Regions from separate parts of the Homo sapiens genome. Here all the other regions are linked to region 2. The links are contacts of gene promoters, found by promoter capture Hi-C in human tissues and cell types (Jung and others, 2019). All regions are on one chromosome and are shown on one strand. The core of a region is centred on a gene start or on the middle of the fragment in contact, and the rest is flanking DNA. Distances in the headings are between cores, read along the strand shown.

What was found. Contacts are between HindIII fragments. The study calls those that stand out against the background at their distance.
Region 1: a fragment that was not itself captured here is called in contact with the fragment with the promoter of NOL11 in region 2 in 1 of the 25 tissues and cell types used here (mesendoderm cells).
Region 3: a contact is called between a fragment that was not itself captured here and the fragment with the promoter of NOL11 in region 2, in 1 of the 25 tissues and cell types used here (lymphoblastoid cells).
Region 4: a contact is called between a fragment that was not itself captured here and the fragment with the promoter of NOL11 in region 2, in 1 of the 25 tissues and cell types used here (hippocampus).
Region 5: a fragment that was not itself captured here is called in contact with the fragment with the promoter of NOL11 in region 2 in 1 of the 25 tissues and cell types used here (mesendoderm cells).
Region 6: a contact is called between a fragment that was not itself captured here and the fragment with the promoter of NOL11 in region 2, in 1 of the 25 tissues and cell types used here (mesendoderm cells).

Annotation. Positions count from the first base shown.
Region 1 is chr17:67,338,360-67,342,101 of GRCh38, forward strand. PSMD12 (proteasome 26S subunit, non-ATPase 12) reads right to left here. Exons shown (of 11, transcript NM_002816.5): 11 at 1-2,693. The coding sequence ends at 2,484. Among named protein-coding and RNA genes, the nearest start is that of PSMD12, 26 kb to the right of the region's middle. The HindIII fragment of the contact is 5,273 bases long and covers 1-3,742 here.
Region 2 is chr17:67,715,665-67,719,185 of GRCh38, forward strand. It overlaps NOL11 (nucleolar protein 11), which reads left to right and starts at 2,272. Exons shown (of 18, transcript NM_015462.5): 1 at 2,272-2,424. The coding sequence starts at 2,284. It overlaps LOC101928045 (a long non-coding RNA gene), which reads right to left and starts at 2,014. Exons shown (of 4, transcript NR_188294.1): 1 at 1,978-2,014. RefSeq lists enhancers at 2,183-2,262, 2,333-2,522, 3,445-3,521 and a silencer at 2,793-2,882. The HindIII fragment of the contact is 26,229 bases long and covers 1-3,521 here.
Region 3 is chr17:67,981,376-67,985,332 of GRCh38, forward strand. BPTF (bromodomain PHD finger transcription factor) reads left to right here. Exons shown (of 28, transcript NM_182641.4): 28 at 877-3,003. The coding sequence ends at 913. Among named protein-coding and RNA genes, the nearest start is that of C17orf58, 13 kb to the right of the region's middle. The HindIII fragment of the contact is 8,005 bases long and covers 1-3,957 here.
Region 4 is chr17:67,207,230-67,211,314 of GRCh38, forward strand. The region is part of intron 5 of HELZ (helicase with zinc finger); the gene reads right to left. Among named protein-coding and RNA genes, the nearest start is that of HELZ-AS1, 36 kb to the right of the region's middle. The HindIII fragment of the contact is 5,627 bases long and covers 1-4,085 here.
Region 5 is chr17:67,427,934-67,431,455 of GRCh38, forward strand. All of the region lies in intron 1 of PITPNC1 (phosphatidylinositol transfer protein cytoplasmic 1), which reads left to right. Among named protein-coding and RNA genes, the nearest start is that of MIR548AA2, 42 kb to the right of the region's middle. The HindIII fragment of the contact is 8,731 bases long and covers 1-3,522 here.
Region 6 is chr17:67,230,431-67,234,018 of GRCh38, forward strand. The region is part of intron 3 of HELZ (helicase with zinc finger); the gene reads right to left. Among named protein-coding and RNA genes, the nearest start is that of HELZ-AS1, 13 kb to the right of the region's middle. The HindIII fragment of the contact is 5,838 bases long and covers 1-3,588 here.

The DNA of each region.
Region 1 (3,742 bases), core at 514-3,013, 380 kb before region 2:
ACTTTATGCTAATGAATTATTTTGTAATACTAAGAAAATAAATTGGTAAATACCTCATATATTTGCTGGATTAATGTTTGACAGGAAAAAACACGAAATGGATGAACAGCTGATCGAGTCGAGTGCAATTTGGTCACTGGGACACAGTTACAAATAGCACTGAATCATAATACACAAAGAGCCTAGTGTGTGTTAAAGAAAGACGAAAGAGGAGTTGGGTGCAGTGGCTCATGCCTGTAATCCCAGCACTTTGGGCAGCCAAGGCGGGTGGATCACCTGAGGTCAGGAGTTTGAGACCAGCCCGGCCAACATGATGAAACCATCTCTACTAAAAACACAAAAATTAGCTAGGTGTGGTGGCAGGCGCCTATAATCCCAGCTACTTGGGAGGTTGAGGCAGGAGAACTGCTTGAATATGGGAGGCAAAGGTTGCAGTGAGCCGAGATCGTGACACTGCAATCCAGCCTGGGCAACAAGAGTGAAACTCCGTCTCAAAAAATATGAAAAAAATAAAGAGGAGGAACACTTGCAATCTCTATAGCAACCTATTTGGCCAAATAGTCCAGGTTTGACAAGCCCACAGGTAATGAGTCTCTAGAAAGATGAAGTTATTGAGAAGCTAGTTTCAAATTAGCTCCAATTTTATTTACATGTTAACAATACACAATTTTATCTTCTATCCTTTTCATTCAAAGGAAAATTAAAACCATACTCTGTTAGTGTGAACTTCTGTTTCTGAACTTTCCAGTTTTGTTTTTTTTTTTTTGAGACGGAGTCTCACTCTGTCACCCAGGCTGGAGTGCAATGGTGTGATCTTGGCTCACTGCAACCTCCGCCTCCTGGCTTCAAGGAATTCTCCCACCTCAGCCTCCCAAGTAACTGGGACTACAGGCACACGCCACCACGCCCGGCAAATTTTTGTATTTTTTTTAGTAGAGACAGGGTTTTGCCATGTTGGCCAGGCTAGTCTCGAAATCCTGACCTTAGATGATCCACCCGCCTTGGCCTCCCAAAGTGCTGGGATCCACTGCACCCGGCCTTTTTTGGTTAGTTTTAAAAAGATAAGTGATAGCAGATGTTGATGTTATTAGTGTGACCAATGCATTGAATTTCCAAAGAATAAAATCAGATTACTTCAGTACTGTATGTCATTATTCACAATGACTCACAGGATAAATATGACAGATATCCCACAACTGTCTTCAGTCCTGGGATCATAAAATAGGACAATTGATAATCTTCCATTAAGTGGAAAATTAATTAGGAGAAATGCCATTTCTAGAATGCTGTTTTTCTTTTTCTCTTCATTTGAATTTTTTTAAAGTAGACCTCACACTTTCTTTATTTAAGTATCATTTTAAATAACCTTCTAACATTGTTTTTTCTATTTTCTCTGAAATAAATCAAATTAAACTTGCAAAATTCGTTCACACCAATTCATCTCAGGTGTTTCTTTGACAGCAAGCTACTTTTAATTCCGTGAAAATATTTTAATACTACACCACTTACTATGAGGGTGGCCTGACGTCTTTTTGCCATTTTTTTAAAGCATTAAAAAAAATTAGGTTATCCAGTGTTCATATAATGGAACTAAAAGTTCCTACAGAGATAATGAATTTGGAACAATAATGATGTAATCAGACTTACAAGTTAAAGCCACAAATAAGCCTTATAAAAACAACTTTATGTTAAATTTAAACCCATATAAAGAAAGGGGAGAGGAAGAAGAGCAAAAAAAAAAAAAAAAAAAAAGTAGTCACTATCCCTATAGAGCGGACTTAACACCCAATAAACTGTGTCAATTATGTCAGCTGATTCTGTTGAACAACTGATCAAGTGAGAGGATGAGGGCTGAAAGCAATCAAGCTACTGTGATTGGAACCAGCCGGACTCAAAAAAAAAAAAAAAAAAGTCTACAGTTTACCAGCATACACACTCAGTCTAGACTTTCCGCCACAATATCAAAGTACAAATTCTTCACAAATCACAACTCTATCCCAAATGTTCTTGTATGCTCTATGTTGCTTTTCTATTCTACTAAATGACTGATAGCTTTACAATGAGATTTGTTTTATTTAAAAAACACTTGCCAAATCACTACCCCACAAAATGTTGAGAATCAGAGGTAACTGTAGAAAGGAAATATGTATATACTGCTTTTATTATTGGAATATGTTTGTTAGTTGAATGAAAACAAACAGTAGCTAAAAAGGTTTCAAATGATAGAAAAACATATCTGGGTAAGTTATGACACAACTTTTTGTGTATTCAGACGACAGAAATCTGTATTTTTGCACCAATTGCAAATGCAAAGTTAACAATGAACTTGGGGAACTGAAAGGTCAAAGGGAGTCTCAAACATATTCACTATTTTAAAATTTAAGACAAAGAAGCTTAGAAAAAAAACCCCAACATATACACCATTATAACAGTCTTTTTTTAATGACTTCCAATTTTAACTTTTTTCTAAAGCACTAAGACCCTTATTGTAGATTATGTATCATCTCCTCTTTGGCTATGAGATGCGTAGTTTTGTTAACCAGAGACATTAATGAGTTCAGTTTCTGAGACCAGTCATTTAATAAATTATTTGGATCCTTGGGTCTCTGGAAGTTGATAATTCCTGCTAATCTGTCTACTTTAGCAAAGATGGTCTTGTTAACTACTAGATTTGAGAGAAAGGCTTCGGACTCCTGCAAGAGAGAAAGATAAATTGGATTAAGACAGGATAAATTACAGACAATAAACAAAACTTCAGAAAAGCATTTTCTGAACTCTTCATCCAAGAATATGCAGGGGAATTCATTCTTAAGAGTTAGTAACACTCAGCTGGGTGTGGTGGCTCACACCTGTAATCCCAGCACTTTGGGAGGCTGAATTGGGTGAATCACTTGAGGTCAGGAGTTCAAGACCAGCCTGAGCAACATGGTGAAACCCCATCTCTACTAAAAATACCAAAATTAGCCAGGCATGGTGGCACACGCCTGTAGTCCCAGCTACTCAGGAGGCTGAGGCAGGAGAATCGCCTGAACCCTGGGAGGTAGAGGTTGAAGTGAGCTGAGATCGCACCAATGCACTCCCACCTGGGCGACAAGGTGAGACTCTGCCTCAAAAAAAAAAAAAAAAAAAAAAAAAGAGTTAGCAACTGCTGACTTCCTATAATAAGTACTTATTTTACTGATAGTCTAGGGAATGAATAGAATCTGAGTAGACTCAGTCAGGGGTGAGTTTGAATCTGCCTCCTTGCAAGCTCAATACTGCTGGTATCCATGCCAACGGCAAGTTGGTCTACTCCCTTTTCTACAAAGTTTCCCCTTAAAAGGCAGTATGGTACAGTTAATTTGTTTCCAGAAATGCTGGGTTAGAATATATGCTCTGCTACTTGGCAAGTATGTACCACGGACAAGACACTTGACTTCTAAGGACTCTGGTACTCTCATTCATAAGTGACAAGAGCTGACAAGCTGATCAAGGAACAAACCTTCCAACTCTAATGTTCCATGAGTCTTACCACCTAAACTGTCACAGATCCTTCTGGGGACAGAAATGGCTTTCAGGCCATTACTACACACTTGGGTTAACTCCTCTTTGTGTGCTATGCATTTTGTCAACATAGAAACATGGACCTAAAGACAACACTGTTCCAACAAGACCTAGGATCACTTGATACTTAAGTTAGTTTTTGGTACTCAAGATTGCTTGGGAAACTATTACTCTATTACCTAAACATAAAATTAAATCA
Region 2 (3,521 bases), core at 1,022-3,521:
GGCAGAGGTTGCAGGTTGCAGAGAGCCGAGATTGTGCCATTGCACTCCAGCCTTCGTGACAAGAGTGAACCTCTGTCTCAAAAAAGAAAAAAAAAGGCTGGGCGCAGTGGCTCACGCCTGTAATCCCAGCACTTTGGGAGGCCGAGGCGGGCGAATCACGAGGTCAGGGGATCGAGACCATCCTGGCTAACAAGGTGAAACCCTGTCTCTACTAAAAATACAAACAAGTCAGCCGGGCATGGTGGCGGGCGCCTGTAGTCCCAGCTCAGGAGGCTGAGGCAGGGGAATGGCGTGAACCCGGGGCGCAGAGCTTGCAGTGAGCCGAGATTGCGCCACTGCACTCCAGCCTGGGCTACAGTGCAAGACTCCGCCTCAAAAAAGAAAAAAGAAAGAAAGAAAGAAAAGCCTTGCTACTGATGGTGCCCTCATCACCTCTCACCTGGTAACTACAATAACTGCGATAGACTTCTAGGGAATCTCCCTGTTGGTGCCCCAGGCGCACTTGCTACTGAGAATGCTCTTAGTTAACTGCATGATCGCTCCCTCCCCTAGTTAACTGCATGATCGCTCCCTCCCCTCCTTCATGCCATCCTCAAAAGATACCCTTGGGCCAGGCACTGTGGCTCTGTAATCCCAGCACTCTAGGAGGCCAAGGGGGGAGGGTCATTTCAGCCCAGGAATTCAAGGTCAGCTTGGGCAATACGGTGAAACCCCATCTTTACAAAAAATACAAAAATTAGCCGGGCATGGTGGTGCATGTCTGTAGTCCCAGGTACTCGGGAGGCTGAGGTGGGAGGATAGCTTAAATCCGGGAAGCAGAGATTGCAGTGAGTTGAGACTGCGTCACTCCAGCCTGGGCGACAGAGCAAGACCCTGTCTCAAAAAAAAAAAAAAAAAAAAAAAGACATCCTCTCAAGGAGGCCTGTGGTCATCCTAGTGAAAATTTCACATACACAGACCACTCCTTCCTCCCCCACACACCCACGCTTTATCTCTCCCTTCTGAGTTTAATGTTTTTCTTCTTACCACCTATCACAAAGTAAGTTATGAAGCATAATAATAAACTATATCCTCTTGATCTCACAACCCAGCCTAAAAATTAAAAGATTATCAGAGTTCAAGATCACCTTGGGCAACAAAGCAAGACTCCATGTCTGCAAAAAATACAAAAATTAGCCGGGCGTGGTGATGGATGCCTGTAGTCCCAGTTATTCGGGAGGCTGAAGCAGGAGGATTGCTTTATTTAGCCCAAGAGTTAGAGGCTGCAGTGAGCCATGATAATGCCACTACTTTTGAACAACAAAAGACCTATTAGCATTATAAAAATAGACTGCATTTGATTCCTTCACAGTAGCTGGATATTCTCCTTTTGCCCATGTCGTCATGTTGGGGCAATGAGAAACAACACACATGGCGATCTGGTGGATGCTTAAATCTAAACTGAGGCACTTTGTCACACTGGGTACATTTGTTTAGTAATTGCCTATTAAATGGTTTCTCCCTAAGAACATCACAATTTATCTTTACTTATTTATTTAACATTATTGATTGAATCTGCCATGCTTATCTGAGAAACATACATTTCTCCCGGAAATAAAAACCTTGCCAAAAATCACACAGGGGACCTTCAACTTCACCTTCATCAAACTAGTCTGAATTTCCTGTAAGCTGAGGAGAGATTTTCCCCACTGGGGCTCAGAGAAGGGGAGTCAGAGAACTCAGAAGGCCTGAAAGACTGAAAAGACTGGAGATCTCTAGAGGGTTCCAAGAAACTTGGGGGGAATTAAGCATTTCACGTAGGAACAGCACGTTATTGGGAGTTTACCTACAGAGATAAATATTTTTTCTTTGGCAGATCGTTCCACAAGGCCATGGATGGAATTCCTAGGGAGTTCCCTTGCAATTAAAAAAAAAAAAATCTAGCTTATTTATATTCGACCACTCCCTAGACCCATCTACAGTCTCTCAAGTCCCCACCTAGAACAGCACGCAGCCGATTCAGGACCCAGTAAGCAGCACTTCCGCGCCTACCCTATCCCTTCCTGGAGCACATCCGGGACTCGGCGAGGCGTGGTCTCGGGAGGCGGAGTCTGACGCAAGCCGGCCCAGCCCACCTGGCTAAATTCACAGTCGCGCTCGCTCCTTCCGCCCGCCAGAGGTCGCAGGCTGCGAGAGCAGGTTCCTGGTTTGGCAAGCACTCGCCCCCTCAGGCCCGTTCATTCTCGCGAGAGAAAGCGCGAGGCCTGCCGGGAGTGAGCGCGGCCGTACTTAGGTTTGCTCAAAATGGCAGCGCTGGAGGAAGAATTCACGTTGTCTTCGGTAGTCCTGAGCGCCGGGCCTGAAGGACTCCTAGGCGTGGAGCAGAGCGACAAAACAGACCAGTTTCTAGTGACAGACAGCGGCAGGACAGTCATCCTCTATAAGGTGAAGGCAATAGGTTTGGGAGCGCCCCGACTGCCTTCTCGCCCCTTTCTGAGCGCGGAGCTCGAGCTCAAGTTTCTCACAGCTTCAGAAAGAGATCGTGGAGAAGGCTTAGCAGAGAGCCGGCTGGGCCTGTTGGGGACGCTGAGTGAGGTCTGGAATCTGGCTTGCTTGCCTTCCTGTAAAGGCATATTTCCGACTTGCAGGGGCAGAGCGTCTGAGTGCACGTGGGTTAGACTCGGAAAAGAAAGAAAACCTGTGCTTTTGCTTCGGAACTCGCGGAATTGGCCTTGCTAAGATTCCCTCCTAGGGTCTTTATTATCTTAGCCGCCCGCGGGAGGATGGAACGGAGATTGGTTGGGCGGGAGAGGATGACACTGACAGAGTGGGAATAGTGGTTTAGCCGTGTCTACACTTCACACCCCTCTCTTTGTAGGGGCGGGGACAATTTTAGAGAGTGAGGGACTTTCTTGATAGCTCGCTAAGAATCTTGCCTCCAAGTGAGTTGTCTGTTGGCATCTCTGATTCACGCTGGGAATCCTGGAGTTGAGTCCTGGGAAAATCTGCAAGCCCTGCCCCCATTTCAGCCTAAAGCCTGATAGAGAACACTTTCTAACCTTGCTTTTGGTGGTCGCATAGAAAGCAGTTACTTTTCTCTGGGCTGCTGAACATAGTTTTCCATGTTTTAAAGAAGTTAGGTATCTGCTTTGACGTTTTGAGAACAGGTTGCTAACAGCTCCCTGTGCCGTTTTGACTCTGCTAACTCTATTGGGTTTCACTTGGGATGTCAAGTAGATTTGCAGTTTTGCAGCTCCTGCATAGGAATACAATGGCAGATTGGAATTGGATAGACATGATCCCAGATGTCCCTACTTAATTTCCCATGCCGCTGTTCAGAGGCATAACTTCCCATGCAGAGGCATAATATAATCAATTTTTAAATGTACTATTGTTTTTTTAACAAAGGGTTGCTTATTTACTTATTTAGGAACTTAGTTATATTTTCATTTTAACTACCCTTTTAGAGGTTTGGCCGGACGCGGTGGTTCACGCCTGTAATCCCAGAACTTCGGGAGGCCCAGGTGGGTGGATCACTTGAG
Region 3 (3,957 bases), core at 274-2,773, 260 kb after region 2:
ATTACTGCACTTTGTTATAATTCATCATTTATACCATCCATATTCTTTCTTTTCTTACAGATTGTGATATCTTTAGTCTGAATTTTTAACTGGAATCAGAACTGGATGTTGGGGTCACTCTTTGTTTTATTGTACCTCGTGATTACCTAATTCAAAATTGCCCCCCAAAAAGTCAGATTAGTTAATATAATTTTTTAATGTTAAAGATGTATCGTGGTAAAAAATTTACTCTAGCAGCCATGTTGAACAATGTATTTAAAAATTGTAAACTCTTGGAATACTGTATTTATCTGCTATTTCAATATAAAGTCCTTTGACTTAGTCCTGGTAACTGTACAGTAATTTGGTTTACTAATGAAAGTTGTGAATAAAACTGTGAAACTAGAAGGGAGACTTTCTGGACTTTAATAGAAAAATGTGATTTTAAGATTGCTTTTTCTTTTGTTTTAGCGTAATTTTTCCCTTTATATTCCCCTCATCAATGTAAATAAACACACACACACACACACACACACACACACACACACACCTTTCACCACAATGGTAATGCTTCTGTAAATGCCTCTATTTGTCCAGTTGGCTGAAAATGTTGTAATCTTTATTAGACAAATATATATATATATATATATATATATATATATATATATATTTAAATATTGGCTTTTTCCAGTGAGCTATTATGTTTAGTGTACAGTGAAAAGTTTTAATATTATAGGTTAAAATTTTCTTAATCGTTCTTTTCTATTCGCTTGCCAAGGGTGAATGAAAGAACATGGCTGCTTCTCCCAGACTGACTGACCTTGGCATCCGCATAAAGCATCATTGTTTTCAAAAATGAAGGGTGCTTAATTGTTCCCTTTTTTCTATATTCTGTAGGTCTCATAACAACAAACTGCAGTCTACAGCTTCTTAAAGTTCAGCGTGTTAACCTAACATAAAACACAGCAAGAATCTGGTTGTCTGAACTATTTTAAATTAAGGAGCCAGATGTTTTTAGTCAGGCTATCCTGACAAGACTTGACCTAAACTTCGTTTTTATTGGTCATAACAGTCCAATTATATTCTTGGCCAATTTTGTCCAACGGACAAGAAAAAAGCAAAGTCAACGACACCATTATCTTGTCAAGATCAGATGGTTTTACTATTGTGGCAGAAGCGAGAAAACTTTGTTTATTGAAAAAAAAAGAAAAAGAAAGCAAGAAAAAAAGATACTATGGGGTCAAGTGTAACTCCATGGAAATGCCACGTCTGCTCTTCAGTGAAGAAGCTGGTTTAGAGTCTCACAGAAAACTTTTGACTGTATTTATTTATTGTTGCAAAAAAGACGCTTTTTTATTGCTGCCCTCATTTGTCAGCTAATTATTTTTTCTTATAAAATCCAGCCCCGGTTACATATAATCATCTGTATCTTATCATGATTCCTGTAGGTAAAAGTACAAGACGACCTCTAGATGTCTTTTCTTTCTATGAAAGGAGCTGCTATGTACACATGTGCACACACACACAACTGGGAATCAACAATGAGTTTATTGTTCATGGTAGATTAAAATTAAGCTTGCATAAAGGTTGGGCTAAGTGGTCCTGGACTACAGACTCTGTTGCCTTGAATATAACAGTACAATTTGTCAATTACTCTGCACCAGGCTAAAATGAGTAAAATCTATTTGAAGGTATCTTGTTTGTAAACATTTGTCAGATTCTAATTTTTTTCTTTTGTATTAAAATTCAACTATGGATGTATATGAAACAAAATAAATGGAGATAATTTTTCTCCCACAGACAGAGGTGTCTTTGAATGTGCGCTAATGATTATCTGTAAGCCTTTGTGGGGAGGGAGGCCTGCAAGGTCATGAAAGGCAGAAGAGTCTAATTGTGCCTGGATTTCTCCAGGACAGCAGTGGCCCCTCGTTTTATCATTCCCAGTCCATTGTCATCACGTCAGAGAAAAATCTTCAGGGGTGCTAATCCTGTTGCATCAGTTGATCATACTAACGAGAACGGTAATGCGACAAGATACACATTGCCTTCATCTGTACATTCTGTGATACCAGGCAAATTACCAATTACACACAGCTACTTATATTTTATGAAGGGCATTTTTTAGATGACCTCATCCTCTGTGTTATTTGTTGATTGGGTTTGTTTTCTGTTTGTTGGTTTGTTTGTTTCTTCCACGTAAGGAAAAGTAGTGTAAACAGTAGCGAGAAAATGGAAACCACAGAGGAAGATGTATTTTGCATGTTTTTCCTTTCAGTGTTCTTACACGTTGTATCACTGCATTGTGGTAATAGCTTCTATAAAATCTGCCATAGTTGGATTATGCAGCTTTGCAAAAATTTTTACTAGATTTTGCACTAACTCATATTAGCTTTGTCCTACCAACTTCTGGAATTTATCTAATTATTGTTTTTCAAAGTTTCTTTCCTTTTAATGTTTCCCTGCTATGCAAAACCTTTCCCAGACCTCAGTTTCTTAAAAGAAAGATGTTGCTACAGTTCCCGATTCTTTCTTATTACAGGCTCAGGTGTACAGGTTATTCTGGGTTAATTTTATCTAATGAAGCCCATTCCTTTTTGTACATAAAGATGTCACTTAAACTTATGCTTACAAACTAAAGACTAATCGCTCAATATGAAAACATGAAAAAATTTTTGCTTAAAGTATTAAGATGGAAGTAGTTAAATATGGGTTATTTTGTCCTTTTACTTTTTTAAAAAATGTTACATATTGTATGCACTGTGCTGATGCAAGAATTCTACATTTTAATGAGTTATAAAATTATTCTGCATCTCATCACGTCACAGTATTTCTGTACTATTTATTCATATATATAAATATATATGGGCTTAATCATTTAAAATTTGTTGCAGCAAGAACTTTCCTACCTGTAGGCAATAGATTGCTATGTTTTTAACAAATTGTGGCAAATTCTAAACAGCAATTCTTTTGTACGTAATAGGACATTTCATCCTAGAAAAATAAAGTAATGTTTTTGACATTGGATTTGGTGCAGTTTCTAATGAAGCAATGGTTGGTTGGTTAATATGTTTTCTATAGCTGTTAGCCTTGCCAAATTGTACAAAAAGGATAAATTTTATGGAAATCTGAAACCAGGAAGATGTTAATTTCATATGTGTATTTAACGGTATAAAGTGTTGTATAGTTTCTATCACCATACAAATACATAGACATTTTATAGTTTCATCAACTACAGAGCTTTAGTCCTTCAGAAGTAATTTTTGAAAAACATACTTCTTTTTTTTTTTTTTTGAGATGGAGTTTCACTGTTGTTGCCCAGTCTGGAGTGCAATGATGCCATCTCGGCTCACCACAACCTCTGCCTCCCGGGTTCAAGCAATTCTCCTGCCTCAGCCTCCCAAGTAACTGGGATTACAGGCATGCGCCACCACGCCTGGCTAATTTTGTATTTTTAGTAGAGACAGGGTTTCTCCATGTTGGTCAGGCTGGTCTCGAACTCCCGATCCCAGGTGATCCGCCTGCCTCGGCCTCCCAAAGTGCTGGGATTATAGACATGAGCCACCACGCCTGGCCTGAAAACCATACATTCTTATAGAACATAATGAATTCCAAAAGCTGCTTTTCTGTGACAAGCAGAAATCTTTGACAAGCTTCTGCTATTCAGAAAGATCTACATAATACAGCTATTTTGCTTCCAATAATTCAGGCAGTAAACTGTACATTTGTGATATTCTTAGGATGTTTCTACCCCAGGCCTTGGGCTTATAAATACATTTAATTTGCATCAATAGATTTCCTTGGCTAAAAGTATTTTCAGTACCTGTTATACTTTACCTGCCAAGTTCACAATCCTTGAAACCATTTCATGAAAAGTATTTTCCTATTGGTAAAGCTTTTATTCTCCTATCCAAATTCTGCAGGAGGTTTAAATAAAATTGTGGCTGGGCATGGTGGCTCACGCCTATAATCCCAGCACTT
Region 4 (4,085 bases), core at 629-3,128, 510 kb before region 2:
TTTTTTTTTGAGATGGAGTCTCGCTTTGTTGCCCAGGCTGGAGTGCAGTGGCATGATTAGGCTCACTGCAACCACCGCCTCCTCAGTTCAAGCGACTCTCCTGCCTCAGCCTCACCAGTAGCTGGTATTACATGCACGTGCTACCACACCTGGCTGATTTTTGCATTTTTAGTAGAGACAGGTCTTCACCATGTTGGCTAGGCTGGTCTCGAACTCCTGACCTCAGGTGATCCACTCACCTCAGTCTCCCCAAGAGCTGGGATTACAGGTGTGAGCCACTACACCCAGCCTAGGTTATTTCTTTTATCAAATCCTTAGTTACTTCTGAAGTGTTTTATTAAAGAGCTTAGCCTAATGAAGGTATTTTTTCCAAAAACTTTCCTAAAAATTTTTTTCATTACCATACAAACTAAATCCTTTAGTCAGTAATGATATAAAATCACTCACTGCTTAGATATAATCATGCTCTCAGAACTAACAATTCAGAAACTGAATTTAAAATGAAAATAAAGGCCGAGCCTATAATCCCAGCACTTTGGGAGCCTGAGGCAGGTGGATCACCTGAGTCCAGGAGTTCGAGACCAGCCTGGCCAACATGGCAAAACCCCATCTCTACTAAAAATACAAAAATTAGCCAGGCATGGCGGCGCATACCCATAATACTAGCTTCTTGGGAGGCTGACTGCTTGTACCCAGGAGGCTGAAGTTGCAGTGAGCTGAGATCACTCCACTGCACTCCAGTCTGGGCGACAGAGCAAGACCCTGTCTCAAAACAAAAACAAAAAACAGCATGGATGGATCTCAAGAGGACCATGGTGAGTGGAAAAAAGCCATCTGAAAAGGTCATATGCTATATGATTCCATTTCTATAACACTCTCAAAGTGGCAAAATTAGGGAGATGAAGAACAGATTAGTGGTTGCCAAGGGTTAGAAAAGGTAGTAAGGAAGGGTGGTTGAGTGTGACTCTAAAGGAATAGTACATTTCCTGAGAAAGAAACAACAAAAAAAGAAGTTTTTCAAAAAAAATTGTAAAAAAAAATTGTAAAAGGTAGGAGGCAGCACAAGGGAGATCTTCACGATGATGGAGCAGTTCTGTATCTTAATTGTATTCGTGGTTAAATCAGTCTACACATGATCAAAATGACACAGAATACACACATTCCTTGTACTAATGTTAATTTCCTTGTTTTGATATGGTGCCAGAGTTATGTAAGACGTAATAACTGGGGGAAAGTAGGTGAAGGGTACGTGGGACCTCTCTGTATTATCTTTGCCACTTCCTGTTAACCTATAATTATTTCAGAATAAAGAGTTTAAAATAAATACATAAAGCTTATATATATATAAATTTTTTAAAAAATAGTTTGTAACTGGATCTAACAATGAATTAAGAAATGTTGTTAAGGCTGGGTGCAGCGGTTCACATATGTAATCCCAACACTTTGGGAGGCCAAGGTAGGAGGATTGCTTGAACCCAGTAGTTCAAGACCAGCCTGGGCAACATGGCAAGACACCATTTCTACAAAACAGAAAACAAAACAAAAAAACAGAAAAAAATTAGCCGGTTGTGGTGGCATGTGCCTATAGTCCCAGCTACTTGGGAGGCTGGGGTGGGAGGATCACCTGAGCCCCAGAAGGTCATCAAAGCTGAGGTGAGCTGTGATCACACCATGGCACTCCAGCCTGGATGACAGAGTGAAACTCTGTCTCAAAAAAAAAGAAAAGAAAAAAGAAAAGAGAAGAGAAGAGAAAAGAAGAGAGGCAGGAAGGCAAAAAGGAAGGAAGGAAGGAAGGAAGGGAGGAAGGGAGGGAGGGAGGGAGGGAGGGAAGGAAGGAAAGAAGGTAGGTTGGTTGTTGAACTGCGTCTCTATTTTAAAAGCCTGGGGAATTAAAAAAAAAAAAAAACAACACTGGCAAGGAGCTTAAATACTGAAATTCTTGTCTCCACCACACTAATATTATAATTATTTTAGTGATCCTGAGGCACAATCTTTTTCATTTCTAGAATAATACAGTTCTTTTTGTGCCTGTTTTCCAAGTTTGTTAGGCTAAAGGAGATAAAAACATCTGCAAAATGCTGAAGTAGGCCGGACGCGGTGGCTCACGCCTGTAATCCCAACACTTTGGGAGGCCGAGGTGGGTGGATCACCTGAGGTCAGGAGTTCAAGACCAGCCTGACCAGCATGGTGAAACCCCGTCACTACTAAAAATACAAAAATTAGCCGGGAATGGTGGTGGGCGCCTGTAATCCCAACTACTTGGGAAGCTGAGGCAGGAGAATCGCTTGAACCCAGAAGGCAGAGGTTGCAGTGAGCTAAGATCACACCATTGTATTCCAGCCTAGGCAACAGAGCGAGACTCTGTCTCAAAAACAAAACAAAACAAAACAAAGCTGAAGTATACACAAGTAGTAGTTGAGGATAAAGCAAAGCAACATGCCCTTTCAGATCAGAAAGACTTCAGTTCAAAACCACACTTCCACTCTGGACTGGCTCTGTGCTCTTAAGCAAGTAACTTAATCTCACAAAGTCTGTTTGCTCATCTGTAAAACTGCAATGATAATACAATTTGACTAAATAACATATTTCAGAGGGCCCAACCCTGTGACAATTTTAAATAAATACTGTTAACTCATTCACTAAATATTTTTTCCAAAAAAATTTTTAACTACCATAGAAACTATTTAATCAAAACTCTTCTGAGGGCCAGGTGCAGTAGCTCACACCTGTAATCTCAACACTTTGGGAGGATGAGGCAAGAGGATCACCTGAAGCCAGGATCACTCAAGACCAGCCTGGGCAACAAAGCAAAACCCCATCTCTACAAAAAATACAAAACAAAAATTAATCAACTATGCTGGCGCACACTTTGTTGTCCCAGCTACTGGGGAGGCTGAAGCAGGAGGATCACTTGAGCTCAGGATTTCAAGGCTGTAGTGAGCTATAATCACGCCACTCTACTTCCAGTCTGGGTGACACCATGACATGCCATCTCCAAATTAACAAACAAATTCTTCTCAGAAGAAAGGTAGTTACAGATATCACTTCCTCCCCCAGAGAGAGTACAGAAGTTTCAACCAATCGCCTATCAATTTGCCTTTTCTAAAAGTCAGCCTCTTTAACAGGGGTTGCTGATTACTGAATCATTTACTTCACAGGCCAAGTCTCACAACAACAAACATCAGTAGATGACCCAAGCCCCTTTGTTTGCAATGATGACTTCTTACATTAACAAAACTCTTAGCTAGGCTTTACAAATCTTACAGCCTCATAAAAAATTTTCATTGATGTTTATGATGGTTAAGTTTAACCTACATATTACAAGTGGTACAATACTCTTAGTTGATAAGATTACGTTCTTTTGATTTTACTTTCTCCATTTACCTCATTCATTTTTTTAGTGTAAAAAAATGGCCGGGCACAGTGACTCACACCTGTAATCCTAGCACCTTGGGAGGCCAAGGCAGGCAGATCACAAGGTCAAGAGATGGAGACCATCCTGGCCAACATGGTGAAACCCTGTCTCTACTAAAAATACAAAAATTAGCTGGGCGTGGTGGCGCATGCCTGTAGTCCCAGCTACTTGGGAGGCTGAGGCAGGAGAATCGCTTGAACCCAGGAGGCAGAGGTTGCAGTGAGCTGTGATCACGCCACTGCATTCTAGCCCAGCAACAGAACAAGACTCAAAAAAAAAAGTAAGTTTCCTATATAATGACTATTCGAAAGGCAAAAATAGAACCATTATTTCATCAAAGTTTTTGTGTTATGCCAAATACAACTGATGTTCAGACAATGAAAAGTGACTTAACTACCTCACTTATCCATTGGTCGCTGGCTTGGCAATCTTCACTATCCAGAATACAACAATGAACTTGGAACTGAAACCCAGGAACTTACAAAGGTGCCCTTGAGTCCTCACTCAGAGTATGTTTACTCTTATTGAAGCAGAATTCCAACTTTAAAATTTTATAACCTTTAATCAGTTCCTGGTTTAAACAAATCAGCTATTTAAAAAAAAAACTTTGGGGACAGAAAAACAGGTAAATTTGATTATGGACTGGACTTTAGATAGGTTAGGGAATTAT
Region 5 (3,522 bases), core at 151-2,650, 290 kb before region 2:
TTCCCCCATTTGTGGCACATTGTCCTTGACGATCAGTCTTCTATTTATTTTATTATTTTATTTTTTACAGATGGGGTTCTCGATGTGTTGCCCACGCTAGAGTGCAGTGACTGTTCACAGGCAACATCATTGCACACTGCAGGCTTGAACTCCTGGGCTCAAGCAATCCTCCTGCCTCAGCTTCTTGAGTGGCTGGCACTACAGGCATCCACCACTGTGCCAGGCTCAGTCTTCTATTTAAATAATGCTGCTACTTTAGAGGGTTTAGGAATATTTAGTGTTTACAGCTAGTGTCTCTGTAATATGAAAACATACTGTGCCTTGGCTGGGTGTGGTGGCTCATGTCTGTAATCCCAGGAATTTGGGAGGCCGAGGTGAGAGGATCACTTGAGCCCAGGAGTTCGAGACCAACTTGGGCAACATAATGCCCATCTTTTTAAAAAATAAAAAACAAAAATTAGCAGGGCATCATGGTGCACACCTATAGTCCTAGCTAATCGAGAGGCTAAGGTGGGAGGATTCCTTGAGCCCAGGAGGATGAGGCTGCAGAAATCGCACTACTGCACTTCAGCCTGGGCAACAGAGTGAGACCCTATCTCAAAAAGAAAAAAAAAAAAAAGAAAGAAAGAAAACATACTGCGCCTAGCAATACAAATAGTGACCTGCGGGTAATGAGATTATAGATGATTTTAAACATTCTTCTTGATAATTTTCCTGTGTTTTACAAATATTTAATAATGAATATGTACTACTCTAAGAAAAACAGTACAAAGGTTTTCAAAGTTTTTTGACAGTCATTTACCTGCAGTAAGTACGTTATACATCCCAACCCCATATAAACTAGCATTTATGTATTTATAAACTTAAAACAAACATTAGTTAACCATTTTTTTCTACTTGTCTTGCTTTTTTTTTTTTTTTTTTTGAGACGGAGTCTCGCTCTGTCACCCAGGCTAAAGTGCAGTGGTGTGATCTCGGCTCACTGCAACCTCTGCCTCCCGGGTTCAAGCGATTCTCCTGCCTCAGCCTCCCGAGTAGCTGGGATTACAGGCATAGTGCCACCACGCCTGGCTAATTTTGTATTTTTAGTAGAGACGGGGTTTCTCCATGTTGGTCAGGCTGGTCTCGAACTCCCGACCTCAGGTGATCCACCTGCCTTGGCCTCCCAAAGTGCTGGGATTACAGGCATGAGCCACCACGCCCGGCTTTTTTACCTACTTGTCTTTACCTCCTGATGTTTTCTGTTTTTCTATTCTATTTTATCAAAGAAGGAAGAAAGAAAAAAAGAAAGAAGAATATTCATGTATTGACCAGGTAAAATGATTTCATGAACCACTGATGGGTAAATTGAAAGCTAGTGATTATAGGACAGTGGTTGCCAGTCTTGTATTTCATGGGTCAGTAAAATTTAAAAGAAATTTTGGGGATTGATGTAAGATCATCTGTTTTTCATGTTGCAAAGTAAGGATGTTTTAAAACAAGGTAGCTGGGCGCAGTGGCTCATACCCGTAACCCCAGCACTTTGGGAGGCCAAGGCAGGTGGATCATCTGAGGTCAGGAATTGAGACCAACCTGGCCATCATGGTGAAACCCCATCTCTACTAAAATTACAAAATTAGCTGGGCGTGGTGGCGATTGCCTATAATCGTAGCTACTCAGGAGGCTGAGGCAGGAGAATCACTTGAACCTGGGAGGCGGAGGTTGCAGTGAGCTGAGATCGTGCCACTGCACTCCAGCCTGGATGAAAGAGCAAAACTCTGTTTCAAAAAAAAAAAAACTTACAAAGTAATTATTTCTACCACCATTATTCTTTTATTCATTTGTCATTTAAAATCTTGTTTTTATGAATTTTATGATTTGAGAGAATTTTCATGTCAAAATATCCTTTCTTTTCTGAAAGAATATTTTAGCATTAAATATTAGAAGGAATACAATTTCAGTAGTTATGTGATGAATAAATTTAGCTTTCTGAAAACAGACCGCACTTGCTTTGTTTTTTCCATTTGGCAATGAACCTGTGCACTAGCATTTAGGAATCATTTAGGAATTATCAGTGTAGTGGAAACAGCCTTGCTTTGAAACAACACAATTTTACTTCCAGTTCTGAATCATTTAATTTTTCTGAACTTCTTTTTACCCATCTGCAAAAGAGGAATCTCAGAGGTATAGCAATAAGGTTTATAAAGGGTTTAAGACAGTTCTGAATGCGCAGGAGTTTATAGATGGTAACGTCTTTTCTCTGGATCATTAATTCTCCTTACTACTCTGTGATTTTAAAAACTTAGAATGTTGGCTAGTGTGGTGGCTCATGCCAGTAATCCCAGCACTTTGGGAGGCTGAGGTGGGAGGGTCACTTGAGGTCAGGAGTTCAAGACCAGCCTGGCCAACGTGGTGAATCCCTGTCTCTACTAAGACACAAAAAAATTAGTCTATAATCCCAGCTACTTGGGAGGCTGAGGCAGGAGGATCGCTTGAACTCGGGAGGTGGAGGTTGCAGTGAGCTGAGATCATGCCACTGCACTCGAGCCTCTGTGACAGAACAAGACTCTGTCTCAAAAACAAAAACAAAAACAAACTTAGAATGTTGGCCAGTGTGGTGGCTCATGCCTATAATCCCAGTGCTCTAGGAGGCAGAATGCTCTAGAGGGTGGAAGCGGGAGGATTGCTTGAGGTCAGGAGTTTGAAACCAGCCTAGGCAAGGTAGTGAGACCTCTGTCTCTAAACAACAACAACAAAACAGCTGGGCGTGGTGGTGCACACCTGTCGTCCCAGCTACTTGGGAGGCTGAGGTGGGAGGATCAGTTGAGGCCGGGAGTTCAAGATCAGCCTGGGCAACATAGTGAGACCCTGTCTCTACCAAAAAAAAAAAAATTAGACATATGCAGTGGCATGTGTCTGTAGTCCCAGCTGCTCAGGAGGCTGAGGTGGGAGGATCCCTTGGGCCCAGGAAGGTTGCAGTGAGAAATGATCACACCACTGCACTCCAGCCTGTGTGACAAAGCAAGACCCCATCTCTTAAAAACAAAACCAAACCACACAACAACTTGGAATGTTGAAAGAAGTTCATTATGTGTTTCCATTTTATGATGAACTATTTCTTTAATTTTTACTCTTTTTAGTTACTGTTTCTTTTTTTTTTTTTTGCGATGGAATATTGCTCTGTCGCCCAGGCCGGAGTGCAGTGGCGTGATCTTGGCTCACTGCAAGCTCCACCTCCCGGGTTCAAGCGATTCTCATGCTTCAGCCTCCCGAGTAGCTGGGACTATAGGCGCCCACCACCACACCCAGCTAATTTTTGTATTTTTAGTAGAGACGGGATTTCACCATGTTGACCAGGCTGGTCTCAAACTCCTGACCTTAAGTGATCCATCCGCCTCAGCATCCCAAAGTGCTGGGATTACAGAGTGAGCCACCGCACCTGGCCTCATGTCTTGTCTTACCTACGGCTTTCCCCCTCTTTCTGCGTTTTCTCCACCCTTTACCGCTGAGTCAGCCTCTGTATACCATTATTCATGATGGGAA
Region 6 (3,588 bases), core at 587-3,086, 490 kb before region 2:
ACTAAAAACACAAAAAATTAGCTGGGGTTGGTGGTGCATTCCTGTAATCCCAGCTACTTGGGAAGCTGAGGCAGGAGAATCGCTTGAACCTGGGAGGCAGAGGTTGCAGTGAGCTAAGATCGCGGCATTGTACTCCAGCCTGGTGGCAGAGTGAGACTCCATCTCAAAAAAAAAAAAAAAAAAGCAAGCAAATTATACTAAAAGGCTGACTTCTAGAAAAGGTTACTGCTTGCCAAGAAAATTATATTACTATAAAACATTGTCTATTCTTTTTGTTTCTTGATTTTTGCTTCCAGATTATCTGTGTAGACACAGAATCACATTACTACTACCACCAGTACTATCACAGCCCCTTAAAAGCCATCTTCAATTTACCAACAGATTATGTTCTAATGCTGTATTTTCAAATCAGACTTTAAAACTGAGAACAGAGTTTTCTATACAGTGTTAACAATAAGGTTACTGGGAAGATTTAAAGTGACAAAAGCAAGTTACAAAATAATATATATGGTATAATCCCATTTTGTAAGTAAAAAACAGATTATAAATAATGGTCATCTCATTTTTGTGAAATATGTAAGTATTGAATATTTTGCATAAGAAAATCAGGAAGGATAAGACACAGTCTAATCATGAAGAAAATACCAGAGAAACCCAAATTGAGGACCATTCTATTAAATATCCAAATAGTACTCCTGAAAACTGTCATGAAAAACAAAGTCTGAGAGGCTATCACAGCCCAAAAAAGACTAAGAAGACAAAACTGCTACATTCATTGCAGGATTCTGGATAGATTCTGGAACAGAAAAAGGGTATTAGTGGGAAAACTGGTGAAATCCAAATAAAGTCTAAAAATTAGTTAATAGAAATGTACCAACAATGGCTGGGTGTGGTGGCTCACGCATGTAATCCCAGCACTTTGGGAGGCCAAGCCAAGTGGATCACAAGGTCAGGAGATCGAGACCATCCTGGCTAACATGGTGAAACCCCATCTCTACTAAAAATGGAAACAATTAGCCAGGCGTGGTGGCAGGCGCCTGTAGTCCTAGCTACTCGGGAGGTTGAGGAAGGAGAATGGCGTGAACCCGGGAGGCGGAGCTTGCAGTGAGCCGAGATCATGCCACTGAACTCCACCCTGGGTGACAGAGCCAGACTCTGTCGGAAAAAAAAAAAAAAAAAGAAATGTACCAACAATGGTTTCTTACATTTGACAAACGTGCCGTGGAAACCTAAGACATTAACAATGGGGAAAACTGGGTAAAGAGTTTATGAGAACTCTGACCTATACTTCTTAATTTTCTGTAAATCTAAAATTATTACAAAATGAAAAGTTTATTACAGGCCAGGTGCGGTGGCTCACACCTGTAATCCTAGCACTTTGGGAGGCGGAGATGGGTGGATCACCTGAGATCAGGAGTTCAAGACCAGCCTGGCCGATATGGTGAAACCCTGTCTCTACTAAAAATACAAAACTTAACCAGGCGTGGTGGCAGGCGCCTGTAATCCCAGCTACTCAGGAGGCTGAGGCAGGAGAATTGCTTGAACTCGGGAGGGGGAAGTTGCAGTGAGCCAAGATCACACCATTGTACTCTAGCCTGGGACAAAGAGCAAGACTCCATCTCAAAAAAAAAAAAAAAAAAAAAAAGTTTACTACAAAAATAAAACTGGGTATCTCCAGGTGATGCTATTACAGCTTTTTTATTCATCTGTATTTTATAATTTTTTTTTTTCGAGATAGAGCCTCGCTCTGTCACCCAGGCTAGAGTGCAGTGGCACAATCTCAGCTCACTGCAACCTCCGCCTCCCAGGTTCAAGCGATTCTCCTTCCTCAACCTCCTGAGTAGCTGAGATTACAGGCACACACCACCATAACCGGCTATGCCCGGCTAATTTTTGTATTTTTAGTAGAGACGGGGTTTCACCATGTCGGCCAGGCCGGTCTCCAACTCTTGACCTCATGATCCGCCCGCCTCAGCCTCCCAAAATGTTGGGATTACAGGCGTGAGCCCCTGTGTCTGGCATTGTATTTTAAAATTTTTAACAAGCAATAAGTTTTCATTGTCATGGAAAACAAGACTTAGTCCCAGAAGACTTAAGTTAATTCGCCCAAAGACACAAAATTGCGGCAGCATAGGAATTCTGGAATTAATTCTCTTTACTCTAGACCCCATGCAGAGACCTAAGAACATACCCTATTAAACTTTTTGACTCTTCTTACTTGCTAATACACAAAATTTAAGGTCACCAGATTACTTTTGCTTCACTATAATTGATGCAGAGGGAGGAAACAGATGAAACAATACTGAGAGCTGTTGAAGTTGGACAATGGGTACATGGGCATTGATTACACTCTTCTTTCTACTTTTGTATGTCTGAAAATGTCCATAATAAAAAACTTTTAATTAAAAAATAACCAGCCTGGGCTTGGCGCAGTGGCTCACGCCTGTAATCCCAGCACTTTGGGAGGCCAAGGTAGGTGGATCACTTGAGTTCAGGAGTTCGAGATCAGACTGGCCAACTGAGTGAAACCCTGTCTCTACTACAAATACAAAAATTAGCTGGGCATGGTGGCACATGACTGTAATCCCAGCTACTGGGAAGGCTGAGGCAGGAGAATTGCTCGAACCTGGGAGGCAGAGGTTGCAGTGAGTCGAGATCGAGCCATTGCACTCCAGCTTAGGCGAAGAAGCGAGACTCCGTCTCAAAAAAATAAAATAAACATAACCAGCCTGGCCAACATGGTGAAACCCCATATCCACTAAAAACACAAAAATTAGCCGGGTGTGATGGCATGCCCCTGTGATCCCAGCTACTTGGGAAGCTGAGGTGGGAGAATCGCTTAAACCTGGGATGCGGAGGCTGCAGTGAGCTGAGATCGCACCACTGCACTCCAGGCTGGGTGACAGAGCAAGACCCTGTCTCAAAAAATTTAAAAATAAAATTAAAAGATAGAAAATAAAGTCCTCACTCCCCAACATAACTATGGCACTTCCTACTCTCTATTGAGCACTGCTGCCTGGGTGAGGAGACACCACCGCTAAGAACCTTCAGCATTTCTCAGTGTGAAGCAGAGAGAAAAGTCATGGACTGGGAATCTTGAAGCTTCCATGTTGGTTCTACTTTAACTAATTGTGAGACCTCACTGAGTCCTCTTAACTTTTCAGGGCCCTAAACTTCCTTAGCTGTTGCCCCAATAATCTCTGAAGTTCCTTCTAGGATTAAAATTCTGATTTCAACTTTCTACAAGCTCCTTAAACTCAACACAATCAAAACCAAATTCATCTTCATTCTAAACTCCTAAGAGCCATTCTCCCTCCTGACTTCCCTATTCTTTTTTTTCTTTAATGTCCCATTCTTCCAGCCACCCAACCATAAAAACCACAGCCTCATCTCTGACTTGAGACATAGAACTCAAGTTCTGTATACATAGAAACCCCCACCCCCGTCTCTACTAAAAATACAAAAATTAGCCAGGTGTGGTGTCGGGCACCTGTAATCCCAGCTACTCGGGAGGCTGAGGCACGAGAATCGCTTGAACCCGGGAGGCAGAGGTTGCAGTGAGCTGAGATAGCACCATGGCACTCCAGC